Regions from separate parts of the Homo sapiens genome. Here region 2 is linked to region 1. Evidence: promoter capture Hi-C in human tissues and cell types (Jung and others, 2019). All regions are on one chromosome and are shown on one strand. The core of a region is centred on a gene start or on the middle of the fragment in contact, and the rest is flanking DNA. Distances in the headings are between cores, read along the strand shown. Region 1 holds the start of RIPPLY3 (ripply transcriptional repressor 3). Region 2 holds the start of MORC3 (MORC family CW-type zinc finger 3).

Region 1 (4,449 bases), core at 470-2,969:
GCCCAATCTATAATGCGAGTCAGGTCTGATTAACACCTTACTCATTCAGGTTCCAACTCCCAGACCCCGAGGCGCTCCTGGGTTAGACGCCCAAGGGACGGCCCTGCGCAGAAGGCCATTCACGGTCCCTGTATTTTAAAAGACGATGCCACTTTCTGGCTGGAAGGGTTACCTACAACGCCCGCACTGAACCTTACCGGCCTTCCAGTTCTGGTCAGCTCAGCATCTCCAGGTGTCTGGATCCAAGGTCGCCACGGCGCGGGGCTGGAACGGCAAGCGCCAGGAGAGAGTGAACCCTGGGCACTTCTGCTGCCTTCAAACTATGCCATGAGAGCTATTCTTAGTTCCAGTGTCTGCCTGAAAAAGAGGCACCGGACCCCCCAGGAACTTTCCCTGGAGTTCTCAGGGCTGTGGATAAATTACTGTCATTTGTGTTTTTTCTCTCCTGCTACGTCCCCAGTTCTCTGTCTCCAGTTAAGCTTTGAGAAGGGAGGTCCCGAATCTCACACAATTATCAGGGAACCCATTAGTTGAGAGATTTCTCTCCCTGCAAATCCTGGCTGAATTGTTCAATTCGGGGTTCCCCAACTATAGCTGTCTACTTTGTCCCCGGTTAATTTCAATCACACCACCTTGGTCACGGAAGGAGATTGATTCTACAGAGATGATTTTACAGAGTTGTAGGATGAAAAACAAACAAACAAAAAAAGGGGGCTGGGCGCGGTGGCTCACACCTGTAATCCCAGCACTTTGGGAGGCTGAGGTTACTGGATCACTCGAGGTCAGGAGTTCGAGACCAGCCTGGCCAACATGGCGAAACCCAGTCTCTACTAAAAATACAAAAATTAGCCGGGCGTGGTGGCAGGCGCGTGTAATCCCTGCTACTCAGGAGGCTGAGGCAGGAAAATCGCTTGAACCCGGGAGGCGGAGGTTCCCGTGAGCCGAGATCACGCCATTGCACTCCAGCCTGGGCGACACAGTGAGACCCTGTCTCAAAAAAAAAAAAAAAAAAAAAAAAAAGAGGGAATCTTTCTCCTGCCTGGCTACCTGGCCCATCCGGCCTACCCGGTCCCTTCCCTACCTCCCTGGCTAATTTGATTTCCTACAACGTTACTGTCTTTAAAAGGGTTGGTGCCCAGGGACAGCGAACGCCGAGCCCCCAATCCAGGGACAACAGAAACGGCTACCGAGAAAGTAGCAAGGTGAGAGATTGCCTTTGCAAGGCTGGCTTAGGAGCCCGAGACTGCAGTGTCCCCGGCTGGCTAACTGAGATCTCCTCTACACGGAAGCGTCGGCCCCTTTCCTGGCCAGCTACATCCTGGGCCTCCGCACTTCAGAGCTGTGCGTTGGAACCGGAGAACTGAGCGCCCCTCCCGGGAACCCGGCTGCCGGCTCAGGAGCTTGCTTGGCGTCGCCGTCGAGCTCCGGAGCTCCGCTGGGGATCGGGGGTTCAGCAGCGCCCCAGCCTCCCGCTCGCTGCGCTCCCCGCACCGCCACCGCGCACGCCTCTCAGCGCGTCCACCGGGGCGCGGGGCCACCCTCACCTCTCCGGCCCGCGCGGTGGCGGAGGCCTCCAGGGAGCGTCCCCGGGGCAGTGACAGCCGCGCCCCCGCGCCTTCCGGGCTCCGGCCGCCGCTTCGGGCTCCATGGTGCCGGCGGAGCCCGCGCCCCTTGCTGCGGCGCCGGCCTACGAGCGCGCCTAGATCCACTCGGGCTAACGCGCTCACCTACCCGCGCGCCAGGTTTAAAAACGGGGGCGGGGCGGCGCGGGCAAGCGCTGGGAGGGGGCAGGACCCGAGGAGCTCCGTGAGGGGTGCGGAGGGGGCCGCAGGGTACGAAGGAAAAGCCCGGGTCGGAGGAGCGGAGGGGACCAGAGAAGTTCCGGGAGGGGACCAGGGAGCCGGGGATGGGGAGGAGACGAGAAAAGCTCAAGGAGGTGGCGCCGGGTGTCAAGGAGGGGGGTCCGGCAGGCCCGGGCAAGGGTGGGGACGGGACAAAGAAAAGTCGGGGAGGGGGCACCAGAGAAGGGGTGACCAGAGGATGGAGGTACCAGGGATTGGGGCCACGAGCTCGGGCTGGAGACAGCGGGAAGTGACCCAGGAACCCGGGAGAGGAAAGCGAGGCCCGCGGGCTAGGGGCGTTTCCGTCGGGCGCACTCCCTCGGGGACTGGGGGGACCTGCGCTCACCTGCTGGGCTTCCCCTGCCGGATGTGGGATGTGAGGAGTCCCGGCTTCTCCGTCCCTCTGTGGTCCCCGCGGCCTCGGGCTTTGGTCCTGTGCGAGCATCGGATTCCCTGGGTTTCCGGAGAATCTCGCTTCCACCGCCTTAGAGCGGCAGCGGGTCTTCGGGGACATCTACCGAATCCTCGGGTCCGCGTGCACCGGCCTTGCCTTCGGTGCTGGACAGTGGGCTCCCGGACGCCCCGACGCCAGGGCTCGAACCCGTGGCGAAGCGGGTGGGGTGGGGCGCGGCGACCCTTCCAGGAGACAGAAGGCCAGGAATGGAACCGAGCAAGAGGGGTGCTACGAGCGCACCCTTCCCACCGATGGCGGCCTTGGAAAGAATGCGAATTTTTAATAAAGCCTGGAGCGGCGGGCTTCTCCTTCGGTTAGCCCCAGCCAGGCTTAGAAAGGGCCTCCCGACCAGCAGAAGCGACCTTGCCCGACCCTGGGGACACTTCCCCGGGCGTCGCTGGAGCGCCGCTGCCACCATCACCAGCGCACGGCCAGGGTGGGAGAAAGCGGTTTCACACGTAGAGCACTGCGACAGAACACCGAAGGCGCTGGAGGGCCTTCAACTACCCCGGGCTCCTCAGGGGTAGTTACTTTATATAATTTAAGTTACTGTGATGGATGTTAAAAAATCGAAGAACTAGGCCAGGCGCGGTGGTTCTCACCTGTAATCCCAGCACTTTGGGAGACCGAGGCAGGTGGATGGATCACTTGAAGTCAGGAGTTCGAGATCAGTCTGGCCAATATGGTGAAACCCGTCTCTACTAAAAATAAAAAAATTAGCCGGGCGTGGTGGCAGGCTCCTGTAATCCCAGCTACTTGGGAGGCTGAGGCAGGAGAATGGCTTGAATCTGGGAGGCGGAGGTTGCAGTGAGCCGAGAGTGTGCCACTGCACTCCAGCGTGGGAGACAGAGAGAGATTCCCTTTCCAAAAAAAAAAAAAAAAATCGAAGAACTTCCGCAAGGCGCGGTGGTTCATGCCTGTAATCCCAGCACTTTGGGAGGCCCAGGCGGGTGGATCACTTGAGGTCGGGAGTTTGAGACCAGCCTGGCCAACATGATGAAACCCCGTATCCACTAAGAAAAATACAAAAAAATAGCCGGGTGTGGTGGCGGGTGCCTGTAATCCCAGCTACTTGGGAGGCTGAGGCAGGAGAATCGCTTGAACTCGGGAGGCAGAAGTTGCAGTGAGCCGAGATCGCGCCAGTGCACTCTAGCCTGGGCAACAAGAGCCAGACTCTGTCTCAAAAAAAAAAAAAAAAAAAAAATCGAAGAACTTCAGACATTAAAGTGTTTTCACATTTTTTTAATTAAGATTTTGAGCAACAATAATTAAATCTAAATAAAGGCAAACATTTAAGAGGGGGGAATTAATGGGAGGAGGCTAGAAGGAGGCAAAGAACATTAGTGGGCCATATTGCAACAATAAGGTACCATATTTAATCTAAATGCAGAATGGGGTTTTACAAGAACACTGGGCAGGGCGCGGTGGCTCAATCCTGTAATCTGCACACTTTGGGAAGCAGAGGCAGGCAGATCACTTGAGGTCAAGAGTTCCAGACCAGCCTGGCCGGAGTGGTGAAACCCCGTCTCTACAAAAATACAAAAATTAACCAGGCGTGGTGGAGTGGGCCTGTGGTCCCAGCTACTCAGGAGGCTGAGGTGGGAGGATTACCTGAGCTCGAGGAAGTTGAGGCTGCAGTAAGACATGATCACACCACTGCAGCCCAGCCTGGGCCACAGAGTGAGACGCTGTTATTTTTCTCAAATATATATATATATAATTTTTTAAAAAAAGAAAAGAAAATGAAAGAACACTGGGCAACTGGGTGCAGAAGGGGTGTTTTCGTTGTGTTTTTTGTTTGTTTGTTTTTTGAGACAGAGTCTTGCCCTGTTGCCCAGGTTGGAGTGCAGTGGCATGATCACGGCTCACTGCAGCCTCAACCTTCCAGGCTCAAATGATCCTCCCACCTCAGCCTCCCAAGTAGCTAGGACTACAGGTGTACACCACCACGCCTGGCTAGGTGTGGATGTTTTTAAATGAGTGTCTTCTAGGTAGCTGGTGGCAATGCAATGAAAAAGTTTGATAAGGTGTATTGTGTGCCATAAAAATGTTCACCCAGGCCGGGTGTGGTGACACATGTTTGTGGTCCCAGCTACCCAGGAGGCTGAGGTGGGAGGACTGTTTGAACCCAGGAGTTGCAGGCTGCAGTGAGCC
Region 2 (4,530 bases), core at 1,475-3,974, 690 kb after region 1:
ATATAGTAATTCAACCAAAAAAAGTGAAAAAAGCATTGAAGTATGGGAGGTGGTGAAGAGTGTGCATCAGCTAAATCCACAGCAGCATTTCTGAAAAAAAAAATCAACAACAAAAACCAAAGTATATGCATTTCATTTCACTAGAATTACAGGGGTAAAAAGCAAAAAATTTAAAAACTTTTTGTCACTCTGCATTTCATCCTGGGATCTCCGACCTCCTAAATGACTGTTTAAAATGTGTATACATTGGGCCGGGCACAGTGGCTCAGGCCTGTAATCGCAGTGCTTTAGGAGGCCAAGGCAGGAGGATCACCTGAGGTTGGGAATTTGAGACCAGCCTGGCCAACATGGTGAAACTCTATATATACTAAAAATACCAAAATTAGCCGGGTGTGGTGGCCCACGCGTGTAAACCCAGCTACTCGGGAGGCTGAGGCAGAAGAAGTGCTTGAATCCGGGAGGTGGAGGCTGCAGTGAGCCGAGATCGTGCCACTGCACTCCAGCCTGGAGACTGAGTGAAACTCTACCTCAAAAAAATAAAATAAAATAAAAAAGTGTATACACTAAGGGTTCACCCTTTGTGCCTTAAAATGTAGGACTTTTGACAAATACATAAGCTCATTAATTTTTATCTCTTAACGCATGCATTTGAAAACTATAAGCAAATAATGTTTCTGGCTATATTCCAATAAAATTTTATGGAAACTGAAATTTGTATTTCGCATAATTTTTATGTCACTAAACATTCTTCTTTTTTTCTCAACCATTTACAAATGTATAAATCACTCTTAGCCTTCAGGCCACACAAAAACAGGTGCTGGGCTGGATTTGGCCCATGAGCTGTATGTAGTTTGCCAACTCCTGACCTAAAGCAAAAGCAAAGAGGCTGCAGATGGGAGATTTCTGTCAGTCAGGTTCCCAACAGCCCATATTACCCACAAAACAAAGACCCAGCACATGGACAGCAGCTACACCCAGAGTGCCCGCTAACAATGCTGGTCTCTAAACACTGACCATTATCTCTGCTTCCTTTCTCCCCTCAATCTTGAAGAGCCAGAGTCTACAAGGGCCTGGGGGCGGGAAGGGAGAAGAGAATCAAAGGACAGAAACAGGAAATCAACTCACTCCGTTTCTCCACTACAGGTTTCTGGGCCTGAACAAGACTCAACCTCGAGAGAGGAAGGAGAGAGAAGTGGGGAAAGGAGATAGGGGAAAGAGAGGGGGAAAAGGGAGGGAGAGAGAATAGAGATTTTAAACTAGGTAAGGCCAGACTTTACAATACCTTAAGCTAATGGGAAAGCGTTAGTCAACCCAGATTCACACAAGTGGGGAATAATTAATGTTTACACTCAGTGGTTAAAAAAAAAAAAAAGAAAAAAAGAATAAAATTGTCCTCTATTTTCAAACTACTAAAGCCTAGCTCACTCAATAAGCTAGTTACATAACGAAAGGATGGACCTTTATCCAGAATACGTAAAGAACTCTTACAAATCAATAAAGATCCTCCCAAAAGAAAAACAGAAAATGGTCAAAGGATATGAATAGGCAATTCAAAAAAACAAAACAAAAAACCACAAAGACTAATACATGCGAAGAGCTCAACAACACAAACAGTCAAGGAAACGCAAGTAAAAGCAAATATCATTTCACAAATATCGGACTAGAAAAAATTTAAAGTCCGTCAAAACCAGGTGTTAGAATCTGCCTAAACGAATGAAAGTCCCAGAGCAATGCACCAATTATTCACTACGTGTTTGTACCCCAAGGAGTCACTACCCATTCGAATGTTAAAATTAGTGGCACTAGGGCAGTCATTCTTTGGCAAAAGTCAACAACCTCCAGAAAAGAGGAACATTTCAGCATAACATCAACTGCGCTCACAAGGTAGAAAAGTTTTTTAGGATAATCAGGTGGGGAAGCCACGCCCACATTTCCTGGACGTGAGATTTCAAGTTATCTTGTGTGACCGCTCCCTACGATTTAAGATACAAGAAATGTTCACAGGGTTTCCAAGAACTCGAAACGCCCCAAAACAGACGCAACGCGGGATAAAGAGGAGAGCTCGAGCTCAGCGATCTAGGGTCTGGGCCCCAAGGCTTCCACTGCCAAGGAAGCTGCAGGCACTGACAGGCATCAGGCACACTCATCCTGACTCCACTCGCCCGCAGGCAGGCCCGCAGCCCCGTCCCCCCGCCCCCGGGACGTCGAGGCCGCCGGCGTTTCTGGACGCGGAACCCGCTCCCTCCCACCACGACGCCCAGCGGACAGAAGAGGGTCAGGGGCCCCGCGGCCCCGAGAGCAGACCGATCTCCCGCCGAGGCCTCGCCCGCGGACGACAGCTGCTGGGAGACTAGGAGGGAGCTGGGAGGAGGAGCCGCGACCCTGGCCCGCCCCGAAGCAAAACAGAAACACAATGCAGAGGCGACGGAACGCAGCCCGGCCCGCAGCCGAGCTGTTCCGCCGACGGGAGCGAGATGGCCGCCCCCTCCCCGGGCCCCGCCGCAGCCCCCGCCGCCGCGTCGGCCCCACAAGCCGCCACCGCCCACTGCCGGCCCCCCTTCGCTTGCCCGCCCGCCCTCCTGGGACACGGCCCGCTCCACCCCTCGCGGCTGCTCACCGCGCTGAGGCGTATCCCGCGGGGTGGCTGCGCCGCCATCTTGAGCGAGCTACAAAGCCAGGAACGGCCTCCGCCGCAACCCGACTGGGAGGTGGCGGAACGACTGTGGAGCCCTATGGGTACCGCCCACTTCCGGGGAGGGGCGCACGTCTGGCCCCTCCCACCCACTTCCGCCTCCAGGCAATGCCGAATTGGGAGCTTGGGGAAGATGAATTGCCTGACTGGTTAAAGCAGGGTACAGTGGGAGCTGAGCTTCCAGCGCGGGGCCCTGCGGGCCTAGGGCGCATGCGCGAGGCGCGGCCGGCCCGTACCCGTCTCGACACCCAGCTGGAGCTCGAGACTCGGGGATCTAGAGTTTGAAGCCTGGCGCGAGATGCGGTATACCCGAGACCGGTGAACTCCAGTCACTTGACCTGGTCGGATGTGAATTGCGCAGAAAAAAGCCATTCCATATCCACCAGTGTCCATGTGAAACCTTAACGAAATAAAGACGGAAATTAATGTAGACTGTTTGGATTTGCCCTGAAAACTATCAATCTAACTCATGATTTAAAAAAAAAAAAAAGAGTTCTGGGGCCGGGCGCGGTAGCTCACGCTTGTAATCCCAGCACTTTGGGAGGCCGAGGTGGGCGGGCGGATCACCTGACTTCGGGAGTTCGAGACCAGCCTGACCAACATGGAGAAATCCCATCTCTACTAAAAATACAAAATTAGCCGGGCGTGGTGGTACATGCCTGTAATCCCAGCTACTCGGAAGGCTGAAGCAGGAGAATGCTTGAACCCAGGAGGCGGAGGTTGCAATGAGCCGAGATTGCGCCATTGCACTCCACCCTGGGCAACAAGAGTGAAACTCCGTCTCAAAATAAATAAATAAGAGTCCTAAAGGCATAAGGCCGGTGCAGTGGCTCATGCCTATAATCCCAACACATTGGGAGGTCGAGGTTGGGGGTTCACTTGATAGGGGTTCAAGACCAGCCTGGCCAACATGGTGAAACCCCATCTCTACTAAAAATACAAAAATTAGCTGGGCATATTAGTGGGCGCCTGTAATCCCAGCTACTCGGGGGGCTGAGGCAGGAGAAGTGGGTGAACCCAGGACAAGGAGGTTGCAGTGAGCCCAGATCGCGCCACTGTACTCCAGCCTGGGCGACAGAGTGAGACTGTCTCAAAAAAATTAATTATTTTTAGAAAGAGAAATTGGCTGGGTGCAGTGGCTCATGTCTGTAATCTCAGCACTTTGAGAGGCTACATTGCGAGGGTCTCTTGAACCCAGGAGTTCGAGACGAGCCTGGGCAACACGAGGAGACCTCATCTTTACAAAAAAAAAATTGAATTAGCTGGCAGGGCGTGGTGGCTCACACCTGTAATCCCAGCACCTTGGGAGGCTAAGGCGGGCAGATCACTTGAGGTCGGGTGTTTGAGACCAGCCTGACCAACATGGCGAAACCCCATCTCTACTAAAAATACAAAATTAGCCGGGTGTGGTGGCACATGCCCGTAATCCCAGCTACTGGAGAGGCTGAGGCAGGAGAATCACTTGAACCCAGGAGGTGGAGGTTGCGGTGAGCCAAGATCACACCACTGCACTCCAGCCGGGACAACAAGAGCGAAACTCCATCTCAAAAAAAAAAAAAAATTAATTGTGCTTGGGGGCGCACGCCTGTGGTTCCAGCTACTTGGGAGGCTGAGGTGGGGAGGACTACTTGACCCTGGGAGACTGAGGCTGTAATGAGCCATGTTCTCACCACTGCACTCAGTCTGGGCAACAGAGCGAGACTCTCGTCTCAAAAAGGAAAAAGAAACAAAAGAGAATGGATTTTTTTTTCTTTTTTTTTTTTTGGAGACCGAGTCTCGCTCTGTCGCCCAGGCTGGAGTGCAGTGGAATGATCTCGGCTCACTGCAAGCTCCGCCTT

What was found. Contacts are between HindIII fragments. The study calls those that stand out against the background at their distance.
Region 2: the fragment with the promoter of MORC3 here is called in contact with the fragment with the promoter of RIPPLY3 in region 1 in 1 of the 25 tissues and cell types used here (dorsolateral prefrontal cortex).

The regions. Positions count from the first base shown.
Region 1 is chr21:37,003,972-37,008,420 of GRCh38, reverse strand. RIPPLY3 (ripply transcriptional repressor 3) reads right to left here and starts at 1,719. Exons shown (of 4, transcript NM_018962.3): 1 at 1,545-1,719; 2 at 198-264. The coding sequence starts at 1,648. RefSeq lists a silencer at 1,545-1,654 and an enhancer at 1,878-2,378. The HindIII fragment of the contact is 12,344 bases long and covers 2-4,449 here.
Region 2 is chr21:36,318,391-36,322,920 of GRCh38, reverse strand. It overlaps MORC3 (MORC family CW-type zinc finger 3), which reads right to left and starts at 2,724. Exons shown (of 17, transcript NM_015358.3): 1 at 2,618-2,724. The coding sequence starts at 2,656. RefSeq lists a silencer at 2,141-2,600. The HindIII fragment of the contact is 28,282 bases long and covers 1-4,530 here.